Linked DNA regions of Homo sapiens: region 1 is linked to region 2. The links are contacts of gene promoters, found by promoter capture Hi-C in human tissues and cell types (Jung and others, 2019). All regions are on one chromosome and are shown on one strand. The core of a region is centred on a gene start or on the middle of the fragment in contact, and the rest is flanking DNA. Distances in the headings are between cores, read along the strand shown.

Evidence for each region. Contacts are between HindIII fragments. The study calls those that stand out against the background at their distance.
Region 1: a contact is called between a fragment that was not itself captured here and the fragment with the promoter of E2F5 in region 2, in 1 of the 25 tissues and cell types used here (stomach).

Annotation. Positions count from the first base shown.
Region 1 is chr8:85,126,056-85,132,674 of GRCh38, forward strand. LRRCC1 (leucine rich repeat and coiled-coil centrosomal protein 1) reads left to right here. Exons shown (of 19, transcript NM_033402.5): 9 at 634-782; 10 at 3,120-3,324; 11 at 3,864-4,003; 12 at 5,705-5,906. Among named protein-coding and RNA genes, the nearest start is that of LRRCC1, 22 kb to the left of the region's middle. The HindIII fragment of the contact is 4,731 bases long and covers 2,504-6,619 here.
Region 2 is chr8:85,173,514-85,180,891 of GRCh38, forward strand. It overlaps E2F5 (E2F transcription factor 5), which reads left to right and starts at 3,641. Exons shown (of 8, transcript NM_001951.4): 1 at 3,641-4,141. The coding sequence starts at 3,908. E2F5-DT (E2F5 divergent transcript) reads right to left here and starts at 3,528. Exons shown (of 3, transcript NR_134311.1): 1 at 3,318-3,528. RefSeq lists an enhancer at 3,302-3,471 and silencers at 3,572-4,101, 4,112-4,501. The HindIII fragment of the contact is 23,089 bases long and covers 1-7,378 here.

The DNA of each region.
Region 1 (6,619 bases), core at 3,619-6,118, 46 kb before region 2:
ACCAATCTTTATATTCCCTTGCGTGCCTTGGTAAGGACTCTGTTTCCTTAATACAGAGTCTGGCATGTGGGTGCCATGCTATGAGTATATACTATTTCAAAAAAGGAATCTTATCTACTATGGCATAATAATAGCAGCTAACATTTATTGATTGGTTATTATGTAGCAGGCACTGTTCTGCACTTACCTACATGCTTTGCTACCAGTAACATAATTTTTGGCCCGGCGCAGTGGCTCACACCTGTAATCCCAACACTTTGGGAGGCCGAGGTGGGTGGATCACTTGAGGTCAGGAGTTCGAGACCAGCCTGGCCAACGTGGTGAAACCCCATCTCTACTAAAAATACAAAAAAACAGCCAAGCTTGGTGGCACATGCCTGTAGTCCCATCTACTCGGAAAGCTGAGGCAGAAGAATTGCTGGAATCCAGGAGGTGGAGTTTGCAGTGAGCTGAGATCATGCCACTCCACTCCAGCCTGGGTGGCAGAGTGAGACTCAAAAAAATAAAATAAAAAGTTTCACTGTAGCTCTTTGAAGTAGGTACTATTATTCCCCTGTTATAAATGGGAAAATTGAGGCTGTGAGAAGTTAGGTAACTTTTCTAAGTTCACATAACTTTGTTGTTTTCTTTCAGTCCCTTGTTGAACAGCTAGACCAAGAGAGAGAGAAGAGATGGAGAGCTGAGCAAGCCGAAAATAAACTCATGGATTATATTGATGAGCTGCATAAACATGCAAATGAAAAAGAGGATATTCATAGTCTGGCTCTACTTACCACAGATAGGTAAAAAGAAATTAATAAACCTGAAGATACCTCATAGCATAAACAATACTGACTTTAGAACTGGAATACATTAGTTTCAGTGTGGTTCAATCAACAACAATGTATGTGGTTTTAGTTTGATTTGAACTAATTTTATTAGACAATTTAGCACTTTATTAGCTTGTTATATCAACAAGAAATTCAGGTACATGTATTTGAGCCCTCAAGCAGGAAGGTGTCAGATAAATATTATAAGTAAAGAACAGCAAGAGACTAGAGCAGTGATTAACAAACTTTATGTAAAGTGCCAGATTCTGTAAAGGGCAGGCATTGGCAGCCTTTTTCTTTAAGCTTCATGGGTCATATTTGATCTCATCACATACTTATCTTCTGCAATGGGCTTTTGTATCATATAGCCCAGTTTCTTAATTCTGATGTTTTTATTCTATCCTCACCATTACGTCTCCCATTTTATCTGGGTTTTTTGTTTTGTTTTGTTTTGTTGTATTGCATTCTTTAATACAGGTCTGTCATTTCATTCTGTGAAAATACCAGTTTTTTAAATTACAATAACTTTTTTTCTTCTGTTTCCTGTAATTATTTCTAACGTCATGCTTTTCCTCAAATGATTATAACATGTTTAGAGTTTCTTATGGTTTCTTACCCTTGAATGAGCACTAGGTTTTTAGACTTGACATTTGCTAACACACTTTGGGAAGTTGCTCTTGGTTCCATTTCTTGTCTGATTGTGCAGTGGATAATTCCCCTTCTAAAATCTGATTTGGATAAGTTGATGTACACAGTTCACAGCCCAGTTCCCGATTTCTTTTAGGCACTTTTGTGATACTGACGTGGTGTTTTCTACCCCACTGCATGTTTCTCTGATAGGTTGTACCTGTGGAGTATAAGGACAATTCTAATACGCAACATGCATGCTATGAGAACCTCTATAATTATAAAGCTGTGATGCGTTATGTTATCACTAGCCCTTCTACCACTACCCACCAACTTCCTGCCTTATTTGTGTTTTATAAATGTCTGTCTGAATTGACACAAGAAGCTACTGGGTATGGATGAGGGAACAGGATGTCTCAATTAAGAGTGCTCTGACTACCTCAGAAAAACAGCACTCCTGCTTTCAGTAAGTGCATGAGTAACCAACATTATGTAGTGACAGATTTATAGAGATCTTGTGACTGAGTCATGGACAGATAGTAGAAGAGAAAAGATATGTCTTCCTTTTTTCAGAATGGAGCAGTTTCATGAGGCAAAGCCTGAGTGTTGTAGGAGTTGTTTTTAATTTCAATTTAGTTCCATTTGCCTTGTAATTGAAATTATTCCCAAATTTTGGCATTCTCTTATCCTTTGTTTTCAGTTATATGTGTATGAATTTTTACTTTATTCTGTATTCTAGGTATTTAGTGGGATATTAGAGGACGCTGTGTCTAGGGCTGCTAGCCAAAGTCCATTTAAACTGGAAGACTTTGGGCACACTTTATCTTTCTTCTTACTTAACCTATTGTTGTGCCCGTGTTTCCCAAGTTATGTATTCATTTTTCTCATGAAAAATCAATCTTTTCTGATTCTTCTTTTATCTGTGCCACCCCCCCACCCCCCCCACCACCACATGTTTGTTTGAGATTAGATCCTTACCAATCTCCCTGTTCCCTTATGTGCCTTGGTAGGGACTCTGTATCCCTAATGCAGGGTCTGGCATGTGGGTGCCATGCTGTGAGTATATACAATTTCAAAAAATGAATCTTACCTACTATGGTATCTTTATTATCCAAACCTCCTTGATGACCAGATCTGTTCATCTAATTATCTACTAAAAATGCCTTGCCTGTATTCCTCATAAGTTTCTTAAGATCACCATGGCCTCAGGTGGATTCATTCTTCTTCCTTATTTTATATTTCTTGCCCTAATAAATGGTGCCCCATCCAGCATCCAGTCAGTCACCAAAACTATAGAAATCTAGGAATCTTTGTTTTTTGCTTCCTTTCTCTTTCTCCTATCCCACAACCAGTTGATATTACCATCTTTATTGATACTTTTATTCATCAATTGATATTGATATCATCTTAAAAGATGTTGAACTATCTCCTCTGTATCCCAAAACTGTTACCTTTCTTTAGGCCCTTAACTGTTGCTTAGATGATTGTTCCATTTCTGTTTCTCTGTGGCTTTCCCTGCCCCTACCCATATACAGTCTAGCACGCTTTCATATAGCATATCAAACAGGAGTTGAGAGCATGAACAAAGGAAGACCAGTTCAGAGAGTACTCTCATTGAAGTCAACAATTTTATCATTTTTATATGTGTAATATACTTAACACCACATATAACTTCTGCTTTAGGCTAAAGGAAATTATTTTTAGAGAGAGAAATTCCAAAGGACAACTCGAAGTTATGGTTCACAAACTTCAAAATGAAATTAAAAAACTGACTGTTGAACTAATGAAAGCAAAAGATCAACAAGAGGATCACCTTAAACACTTAAGAACCCTCGAAAAAACATTAGAAAAAATGGAGAGACAAAAAAGGCAGCAGCAGGCAGCACAGGTATTTCTCTATTTTAATATATGAGTAGCACAGATTAACACAAATTCATAGCTTCTATCGTGAAACAAATTATACTACCTAGAAAACCTAAAAGATGTAAGGCCATATGCAAAAATTAAATTGCTGTTAATTTAACGGTCACATAGCCTGTTGAATTATGTCTAAATTAAGACTACTAGCTCTTAACACAAAGCAATTAAAAAGAAAAGTTGATGGAAATGTTGCAGGTGGTTAGGCTTTTATTCTGAGAGAGCTGGCTTTTTAAAAGGCTTTCAGGTGATTGAAGGAATTTCATTTTCATGCTTTCTGAATGGAAATTATCATTAAAATCTGTGATGCAAATAAGCAATAGTTAATGCTAGTGTATTTGTTCCTTCCAAGGCTGCACTTTGTGTGACTGTAACATCATTAATTTATTAAAGTTTGAAAATCAACTTAGTCACCGGACACTGTCATTTAAAAGGTACTTATGGAAACTGACATTAAAATAGCAGGGGAGACTATTATCTAAATAATGTAATTGTGGGTATTTTACTCAGATAAGACTGATCCAAGAGGTGGAACTCAAAGCTTCAGCTGCCGATAGAGAAATATACTTACTTAGAACTTCCCTTCATCGAGAAAGAGAACAAGCGCAACAACTTCATCAACTTCTTGCATTGAAAGAACAGGAACACAGGTAAATGAAAAATGTATCAGGAATGTATTGGCATTTAAAAAAAGAAAAAGAAAGCTACTGGTTCCCCACTACCAGTATTTTTTTTTTTTTTTTTTGAGACGGAGTCTTGCTCTGTCGTCCAGGCTGGAGTGCAATGGCGCAATCTCGGCTCACTGCAAGCTCTGCCTCCCGAGTTCACGCCATTCTCCTGCCTCAGCCTCCCGAGTAGCTGGGACTACAGGCGCCCGCCACCATGCTGGCTAATTTTTTTTTTTTTTGTATTTTTAGTAGAGATGGGGTTTCACCATGTTAACCAGGATGGTCTCGATCTCCTGACCTCATGATCTGCCCCACTCGGCCTCCCAAAGTGCTGAGATTACAGGCATGAGCCACCGCGCCTGGCCCCCACCACCAGTATTTAAAGATAGTGATTGAGCATTGGTGAAGTCTGACAGAATTAGTTAGTGGAAAATGCCGTGTTCATGTATGTATACATTAGAATCAGCCCTATAGCAAGAACTAGTAGCTAAAAAATGAATAGTTGCCTTTGTTATCAGCATTTGAGGTATAGGTTTATAACAATATAGCTTATTGTTCATTTCTTCAAACCCAGCCAAAAGTTGGTCTTTATATAGAGAGAAAATTTTTAATTGACCCCCAAGTTAATTAATTAGTAAATTAATCAGTATTCTTTATTCCTCTGAAGGAGGGGTCAGTGAACTTTTTCTGTAAAGGGTCACATAGAAAATATTTCAGGCTCTGCAGGCCATACCTAACTTTGCCTTTGTAGCACAAAAGTAGCCATAGATAATACATAAATGAACGGCATGGCTGTGTTCCAATAAAAGTGTATTTACAAAGAAAAAGGCAGTAGGTCACATTTGGCTGATGGGCTGTAGTTTCTCAACTCTTGCTCTACAGAATCTGTAATAATTTCAACATTTTCAGTTTATCTATTTCAGTTATCTATTTACTATCCTACCAGTGAAATTGTATGATTATCATATGTTAATTGTATTTATTCCGAAACCTGTTTTGTTTTGTGTCTACATAAATTTTGGTGCTCTGGGGAAAATTGTTATCTTGTATAGATGAGACAATTATAAAAGATTGGGGGAAAATAATCACAAAAATCTAGAATTTTGTACTTTGTTTCCTTTACAGGAATTTTGTACTTAGTTTCCTTTACTTAGTTTCATTCCAGTTTAAAGAAACCAAAAACTGGAAATAATGGGTTTCACATTATGAGTTTGAGTAATGCAAGAAAAGTAGTGGAGAACCGTAAAGAATGAACTAACTGGCCCAATATCAAAAGATTAGTAAATAATTTTACACTTTAACTGACTTTTTCTATTAACAAACCACCAGTGCTAATCAGACTGTATTTATTGCAAGTCAAAGACTCGGCCAAAGTAGTAGATACAGTGAAGCATCTTATGCAAATGCATCTGAAGAATTTCTGAAGCCATAGAATGATTCTGAACTATCTCATGAAGTTAAGATTTGACATACTTCCCTTATCTCCATCACTATTAAATACACAATCAAATAAAACTCATATTATTTGTACCTATCTATGCCCAATTACTGCGTTTGAAAGTGAGAGGCTGATACTGAATTAACAATACTGAATATAGAATATTAAGAACTACGTAAAGACCTTTAAAATGTTTCTTTTCAGGTGAGTATCATCCTTTTATCTTTATATGTTTTTCACTCCAGGAAGGAACTTGAAACAAGGGAGTTTTTTACTGATGCTGACTTCCAGGATGCCTTAGCTAAAGAAATAGCCAAAGAAGAGAAAAAGCATGAGCAAATGATAAAAGAATACCAAGAGAAAATTGACGTGTTAAGCCAGCAGTATATGGATTTAGAAAATGAATTCCGTATTGCTTTAACTGTTGAAGCCAGAAGATTTCAAGATGTAAGAATTGGCACCCAGCTTTTTATTGAAAACAGAATCAGTAAGATATGGTTTGATGAGAGGACTTGTTTTAGAAACATAGCTGTATTAAATGTTGGCTTCATAATCTTAAGTAAAATATATAAATTCTTAGAGGCCTTAGTTTCCTCAAATAAATAATAGCTACTATTTACTGCTCTTGCAAAAACTAAGTAAGATTATAAATGTTATAGAGCACTGGAATAGGAATCTGAGAACCTGAATTCCCTCCTATTACTGTAGAGCAGGGATTGGCAAAACTAAAGCCCCCAGGCCAAATATGGCCCACTGCCTATTTCTCTTTAAAGTAAAGCTTTTTTGGAACAGAGCCATGCTCATTTTTTACATATTATCTATGGCTGCTTTTCCATTACAAAAGCACAGTTGAGTACTTTCTTTTTTTTTTTTTTTTTTTTTTTTTTTTGTTTCAGATAGAGTCTCGCTCTGTTGCCCAGGCTGGAATGGTGCAGTGGCATGATCTTGGCTCACTCCAATTTCTGCCTCCCAGATTCAAGCAGTTCTGCTGTCTCAGCCTCCCAAGTAGCTGGGACTACAGTCACAGGCCACCACGCCCGCCTAATTTTTGTATTTTTAGTAGAGACAGGATTTCATCATGTTGGTCAGGCTGGTCTCGAACTCCTGATCTCAGATGATCCGCCTGCCTCGGCCTCCCAAAGTCCTGGGATTACAGGCGT
Region 2 (7,378 bases), core at 2,391-4,890:
GATCATGCCATTGCACTCCAGCCTGGGCAACAAGAGCAAAACTCCATCTCAAAAAAAAAAAAAAAAGTCAGTCTGTCATCATCAATAAACAAGTAAAATTTTGTTGGATTTTCTTAAATATTTAACTACCAGATTATGACAAAACTGTGCATATTTTAAATTGATCCTGAATCTCTATAAAAATGGCATTTGTGAAATTCCACAAATGTTAGATACTATAAGTTTAATGAGCTGTGGACTAAGAAATCATTCTGTTTTGAAATATTTAAGCCTTCCTTCTTAGTCCTGAACTAGCTAAGGAGCTGCACTTCCAAAATGCATTTAAAAAAAGAAAATTTAACCAGGGGCATATAAACAATATTATAATTGAAAATAGTATCTACCCAACTAATCAGCGTAAATTGAATTTAATGAAGGATTACTGTTATGCATTTATTACCCTTATAGGTCAATGAAATATAGTTTAGTTCAATTGGATTTTTTTTTTTTTTTTTTTTTTTAGGATAGATTCTCACTCTGTCACTCAGGCTGGATTGCAGTGGCAGGATGACAGGTCACTACATCCTTGACCTCTTGGGCTCAAGTGATCCTCTCACCTCAGCCTCTCTAGTGGCTGGGACTACAAGTGTGCACTACCACGCCCAGCTAATTTTTGTAGTTTTTGTAGAAATGGGGTTTTGCCATGTTGTCCAGGCTGGTCCTGAGTTCCTGGGTTCAGGCAATCCTCTTCTCTCAGCCCTCCAAAGTGCTAGGATTACAGACAGGCGTGAGTGCCCAGCCAGGCGTGAGCACTCAGCCAGCTTTGACTTTTGTTGGAAATAATTTTTAAGCCTTTGTCAGAAATGGCACAAAGAACTGATGTAGGAATTTACAGCCTTTTGAGAGTTATCTCCTTTATAGTCAAAAGGATACAGAAATAAAAGTTAAATTACAAAACTGATCAATATCATGTTCTTAAACATTATTTGTATCATAACTTTTAAAAAATCATGTTTCTTAGTTTTTTTAAAAAATAGAATTTTTAAAAACATTTAGCAATATTTAAAAAACTTTTGCATTATCAATCTCTGTTTTTTGTCGATTTTTAGGAAAAATATATATTGCATTATTTTTCATTGTGCTATTTGGCGTTTCTCAAAGAATGACTATGTTGTGCATGAGAATTATCTGAACTGTGAAAAATGTGGACTCACAGGTCATATTCTCATATCAAATGCTAATTTGATCCCTGGGGTTTGGATCCAAGCATCTAGATTTTTAACAAACATTGTAGATGATTTTTTCCCCTAAGGTCTGGGAACCACTGGTATAAGCGATTTTTAGCTCTTCAGACAGACATAAGATTTTGAATGCTAATTAAAATGGCTGCTAATTTGTGAATAATTTCTAATTGAACCCCAGGCAATCTAAAGAGATAAAAAATTCATTGTGAAAAACACAAATAACAGTGCAAAATAAATTGTTAATTGACCTTTTAGAATCACTAATAATATAATTGCTTTGTAGAAAACCTTTTAAAGCTGAAATTTAAAAAATATTGTTTTTAAAAATTACCAAGATAGCTACTATAAAATATGATTACATGCCATGGGATGAACTATATCTCCCCAACATTTGTATGTTGAAACCCTAACCCTCGGGCCTTTGGGAGGTGATTAGGTTTAGATGAAATCGTGAAGATTGAGCCCTCAGATGGAATTAGTGCCCTTATAAGAAATCTGAGAGCTTATGCTGTCTCTGTTCTGTCTGTCTTTCTCTCTCTCTCTGCCATTTGACACAATGAGAAAGCCACAATCTGACAGCCAAGAAGGGGGCCCTCACCACAACCTGGCCATGGCAGCCTCCTGATCGTCGACTTGCAGCCTCCAGAACTGTGAGAAAATTAATTTCCGTTAAGTCACCCAGTTTATGGTACTTTCTCAAACTAAGACACCATAGAAGTGTAAGTTTTAAAAATATTAATACATTTAGTGTTATTAATTCCTGTCCCTGCACATATAACACAATGTTCTGTTATAAAGTTAAAAACAAATTAGAATCTTCCTAATTCAGTATGTTCTAAGAAATACTACTTGACAATAATCAATAAAATAAATTTGCAAAACTTGTCAATGATGTGTCCCATGTCAAATCAAATAAAGATAGCCTTTCTTGGATAGGTTGTTGGAAAATGGTTGTATCAACTGAATTTTTCATGTTTTACTTCAGATTTTCAATTTTAAGTTTTGTTTATAGATTTGATTAAAATAAAGGTTATTATGAATAGGTTATTAATAAAGGTTATAAAGTTCTGTGCCTATGATGTGTTATAAATGGTGTGTTCAGCTTTACTAGTTAATGCTGTTGTATTTGATGTCGCTTCAGTGACCTTTTTTGTTAGTTTATTGTTACTTAAAATTAAGCAAAATCTTTCTTGCATGAAATCTTCTTGATTAATTATTGCCATATAGAATTTTCATTCACCTAATCTTTTTTTTTTTTATTTGAGACAGAGTCTTGCTTTGTTGCCCAGGCTGAAGTGCAGTGGTGGCATCTCGGCTCACTGCAACACTGCAACGTCTGCCTCCTGGGTTTAAGAGATTCTCCTGCCTCAGGCTCTGGAGTAGCTGGGACTATAGGCGGGCACCACCACCCCCCGCTAATTTTTGTATTTTTAGTAGAGACGGGGTTTTACCATGTTGGCCAGGTTGGTCTCGAACTCCTGATCTCAAATGATCTGCCTGCCTCGGCCTCCCAAAGTGCTGGGATTACAGGCGTAAGCCACCGCGCCTGGTCTCATTCGCCTAATCTTTATTGTCTACTATATTCAAAGTGTTGAGTGTGACAACAAGTCATTTAAAATTTAGTCTGGATTCTCAAGAGTTTGTAATATAATGAGGAAAAAATCCCAACGACTTTCTTTTACTCAGATCTCCATAATGTCATTTGCCATCAATAGTTTGGAATATCACTGAAGTCCAAGGGCCTGTGGCTACCCAATATTCCAAATACAATATAATTTGGTTCAAATAAGATATTAAGAACTTTGGTCAAGAACTTTGGTCAAACACAGGAGATCTGGAATCTAACGGCATGTCTTTGGCAATTCACAACCTCTCCCTCTACACGTTTCTCCATGTAGAAAGTAAAGGCCTTGGAAAGGATTGATGAAAACCAACCCTAAAACTCCACGATGCCTTTTTCTGTACTCCGAATCTAAAAGGGTGAGCTATGAAGTAAAACTCTGCACTTGGTCCAAGTCATTGAAATATTTGCAAACGATGCTAGAGCTCGAAAAGAGCAAAGATAGCAGAAACCGTCCAGAGAAAGTAACCTACTGCTGAAGCTCTGCAAACTTGAGCAGTCAACCAACTTCACCGCTCACAAACGTTTGGCCGCTAGGCATTGTGACTTTCTGCCCAGATAAAAGTCTTTTTTTCTTTTGTCTCCTTTTTTTCTTCCTCCCTGCTTTGCCGCGTGAGATTACCACTCCTCGGGTCAGCTCGCGAACGCCAGGGAGGCGAGTGTGAAACACACGCGCCAACACCCCTCCTCCTCCTCGTGCGCTCCTCCTTCCTACAGAAAAATGTGTTTCTAGGCAACGGCGGGCGGCGGCGTCACTTCCTGCCATTTAAACTCAGGTCCCCACCCCTCGCAGCCCCTTCTCCTCGTTTCCACCCCTCCCCCCTCGGTCGTGGGCCTCATTCACGCTTCCCCGGGCTTGGGGAGGGGGCGGAGGCCCGGCGTGACAAGCGGCCCAGACTCCCGTGGGCGCCGCACACCTGTTGTTTGCAGCAGCCAGCGACCCGCACTACCGCTCTCGGCGGGCGGGGAAGCGGCCGCAGCGGAGCCGACCCGGCAGGTGGCCGCGGGCGGGGCCGGCGAGCGAAAGTGCGCGGGGGCCCGACCACCGCGGGGCCGGGACGCGATGGCGGCGGCAGAGCCCGCGAGCTCGGGCCAGCAGGCGCCGGCAGGGCAGGGGCAGGGCCAGCGGCCGCCGCCGCAGCCTCCGCAGGCGCAAGCCCCGCAGCCGCCCCCGCCGCCGCAGCTCGGGGGCGCCGGGGGCGGCAGCAGCAGGCACGAGAAGAGCCTGGGGCTGCTCACTACCAAGTTCGTGTCGCTGCTGCAGGAGGCCAAGGACGGCGTTCTGGATCTCAAAGCGGTGAGCTCCGGAGGCGGGGACGGGGGCGGACTTCGGAACCCGTGGCCCCCGGGGAAGCCCAGCCCCTCGCCGCGTGGGTCTAGCGGCGTGGTGTAGACGCGCCTTGCGGGGACCCGGGACCGGGCAATCCGAGGACCATGTGGCCTGCGCCCGGGTCGTGGACGCCGGGATGGGGGAGGGACGAGGGACCAGGATGGCACCGAGCGGACGCGTAACCAATGGGGCCCGGCGCCACGCTGGGCTCTCGACAAAGAGCCCAGGACCTCGAGCGCGCCCGCGTGGCTTCTGTCTCCGGGCGCAGGGACCTGAGGGTAACCGAGTGTCTGTTGCTCTGCGTCCACCTGTGGCAGAGGCTCACGGGGTAACGGGCGCTTTGCCCGGAGACACCGTGGATATCGATTTTGCTGTTAAGAATGGATGGTTTTAATAGGCGATTCCAGTTGGAACCATGTTCCTGTAGTTTAAATAAAAAGGAGGAAAAACAAAACCCAGTCTGCCATCTCTACCAGATGAAAGAAAAAAAAAAAAGAGTACTTCTTTCCACGCCCCTCCCCGATAAAATAGTATTAAATCTTCCTTGTGCACTTCTTTCATCACCCTGATAGTTAGGAGGGGTATTTGATTTGTGACTTCATTTGGCATGTGTCATGGGTTTCCAAAAGTGAGATCTGCTGTCACACGAAAAGGGGATATTTTACAACTTTCACCCAAAGAGGTGGAAGTGCTCAGTAAACTCTCTCCCTGCGTCGTCCTTTACAGCGTTCAGATTTTTCAAACAGGAGCAGGCATCAAAAGCTGTTCTGTCATACAGAATGACTTAACCGATCTAGGAAGGATTTGGAAGAATTCAACAGCGCTCAGGATAATGAGAATGTGGTCACTCCGCGCGAAGTTTAAGAACTAAAGTTTTAGAAACAAACAAACAAAAAACACTAACTGCCCAATAATCACTGCAAATCCCCTTTGACTCCCTAAATGTGGCCTTACTTGGAGGATTGGCCCCAGCTCCCAGGGGAGTGCCTGGACCACCTTACCTGGCTTGAGAGTGTCACTGCATCCTCAAGGCTCTGCATAAAGCAGTGGCAGCTCCCTGAATGTAAGGACCAAGACTTGCAGGGGCCAACTCTTCTGCTAGAGGCCCTCCTCCAGTGTAGCCCAAGGGGAAGTAGATCTTTTCAGTGCCCTCTCCTTTCCCTGGATGTAGTTGGTGTTCAATCAGTGATTGTTGAACTGAATTACCTAAATTGTTCAACTTCATACAACTGAGGCATGCTGCACATATTTTGCATTTTGGTAAGTAATTTCTACTATTTTCTTTTTGATATGTTATTCCTGGAATTTTTTTCCCACCTCTGGAAATTCCTTGTTCTCTTTTTTCCACCACAGCCCCTTCTTCCTTTCTCTCCCTGAAAGTGATTTATGGCATGTGTAGTATTTAAATTGTAGTGAATTAAAATGGATTCTGTTTAAAGAATTTCACAGGAAGTCATGAAGTTATCAGAGAAAGCCAGGAATGTTACAAAGCACAGGTGGCAAACTGCTGTTCAAAATCTAGAAATTCAGCTGTAGCCTGTGACTTTGGTGTAAGAAAATCAGGGAAGTTTGGGGTTTTCCAGGTAAAACTGAACTCTGACGGCTGGACTTTGAGGGCTTCTCCCTCAGCTTGCCTCAGGATATGGTGGAACTTTGCCCTTTCTTGACTTGAAATTCTTTAGCTTCCTCCTGTTTCATCTGTGGCTATATAATTGCCCTACAGAAGTCACAGAGGCAGTGAGTAGGATGTAAAGTTTGGTATTTCATGACAATAATTGCTTTATTCATTCTGGAACTCTCCTAAAAATTCAAAGGTTTCTACAATAACACTGTCTCATTATATTAATGACTTCATACTCCTAGAAAAGAGTTTGAATGTCTTTAGTTTTCATATATATGTATGAAAAACATATGTTTTATGTATTTTACGTATATTTTTCATTTATTTATATATACTTATATATGTAAAAATCTTTTTTTTTTCTTTTTTGAGACGGAGTCTTGCTCTGTCGCCCAGGCTGGAGTGCAGTGGCGCGATCTGGGCTCACTGCAAGCTCCGCCTCCCGGGTTCACGCCATTCTCCTGTGTCAGCCTCCCGAGTAGCTCGGACTACAGGCGCCCGCCAGCGCACCCAGCTAATTTTTTTGTAATTTTAGTAGAGACAGGGTTTCACTGTGTTAGCTAGGATGGTCTCGATCTCCTGACCTTGTGATCCACGCGCCTCGGCCTCCCAAAGTGCTGGGATTACAGGCGTGAGCCACCGCGCCCGGCCAAAAATCTTACATTGAAATCTTTCCAATGATATTTCTTATTATACACCATAGTAAAAGATCGTTAAAGCCTTTTTTTTTTGAGACTGAGTCTTGCTCTGTCACCCAGGCTGGAGTGCAGTGGCAGATCTCTGCTCACTGCAACCTCCACCTCCCGGGTTCAAGCGATTCTCCTGCCTCAGCCTCCCAAGTAGCTGGGATTACAGGTGCCCGCCACCATGCCCGACTCATTTTTGTATGTTTAGTAGAGAAGGGGTTTCACCATGTTGGCCAGGCTGGTCTCGAACTCCCAACCTCAAATGATCTGCTTGCCTCAGCCTCCCAGAGTGCTGGGATTACAGGCGTGAGCCACCATACCCAGCCCATTAAGACATGTTTGATAATACATATTAAAGATGGACTCACACTGACAATTATAAATTTCCTCTAATTTGAAATTATAAAGACACATTTTCTCTTGTATTCTTACTTTGGTGGGGGCATATTTCAGCATAATTTTTTTGAAACTTTTAAGTTATACACTTGACTTTTAAACGCAGTTAAAGAAACTATACATATATATATATATATATATATATATATATATATATATATATATGGTTTTTTGGTTGGTCTTGTTTTTTTTTTTTTTTTTTTTTGAGACAGAGTCTCGCTCTGTGGCCCAGGCGGGAGTGCAGTGGCGCAATCTCGGCTCACTGCAAGCTCCGCCTCCCGGGTTCATGCCATTCTCCTGCCTCAGCCTCCCGAGTAGCTGGGACTACAGGCACCCGCCATCACGCCCGGCTAATTTTTTTTGTATTTTTAGTAGAGACGGGGTTTCACCATGTTAGCCAGGATGGTCTCGATCTTCTGACCTCGTGATCCGCCCGCCTCGGCCTCCCAAAGTGCTGGGATTACAAGCGTGAGCCACCGCGCCCGGCCGGTCTTGTTTGTT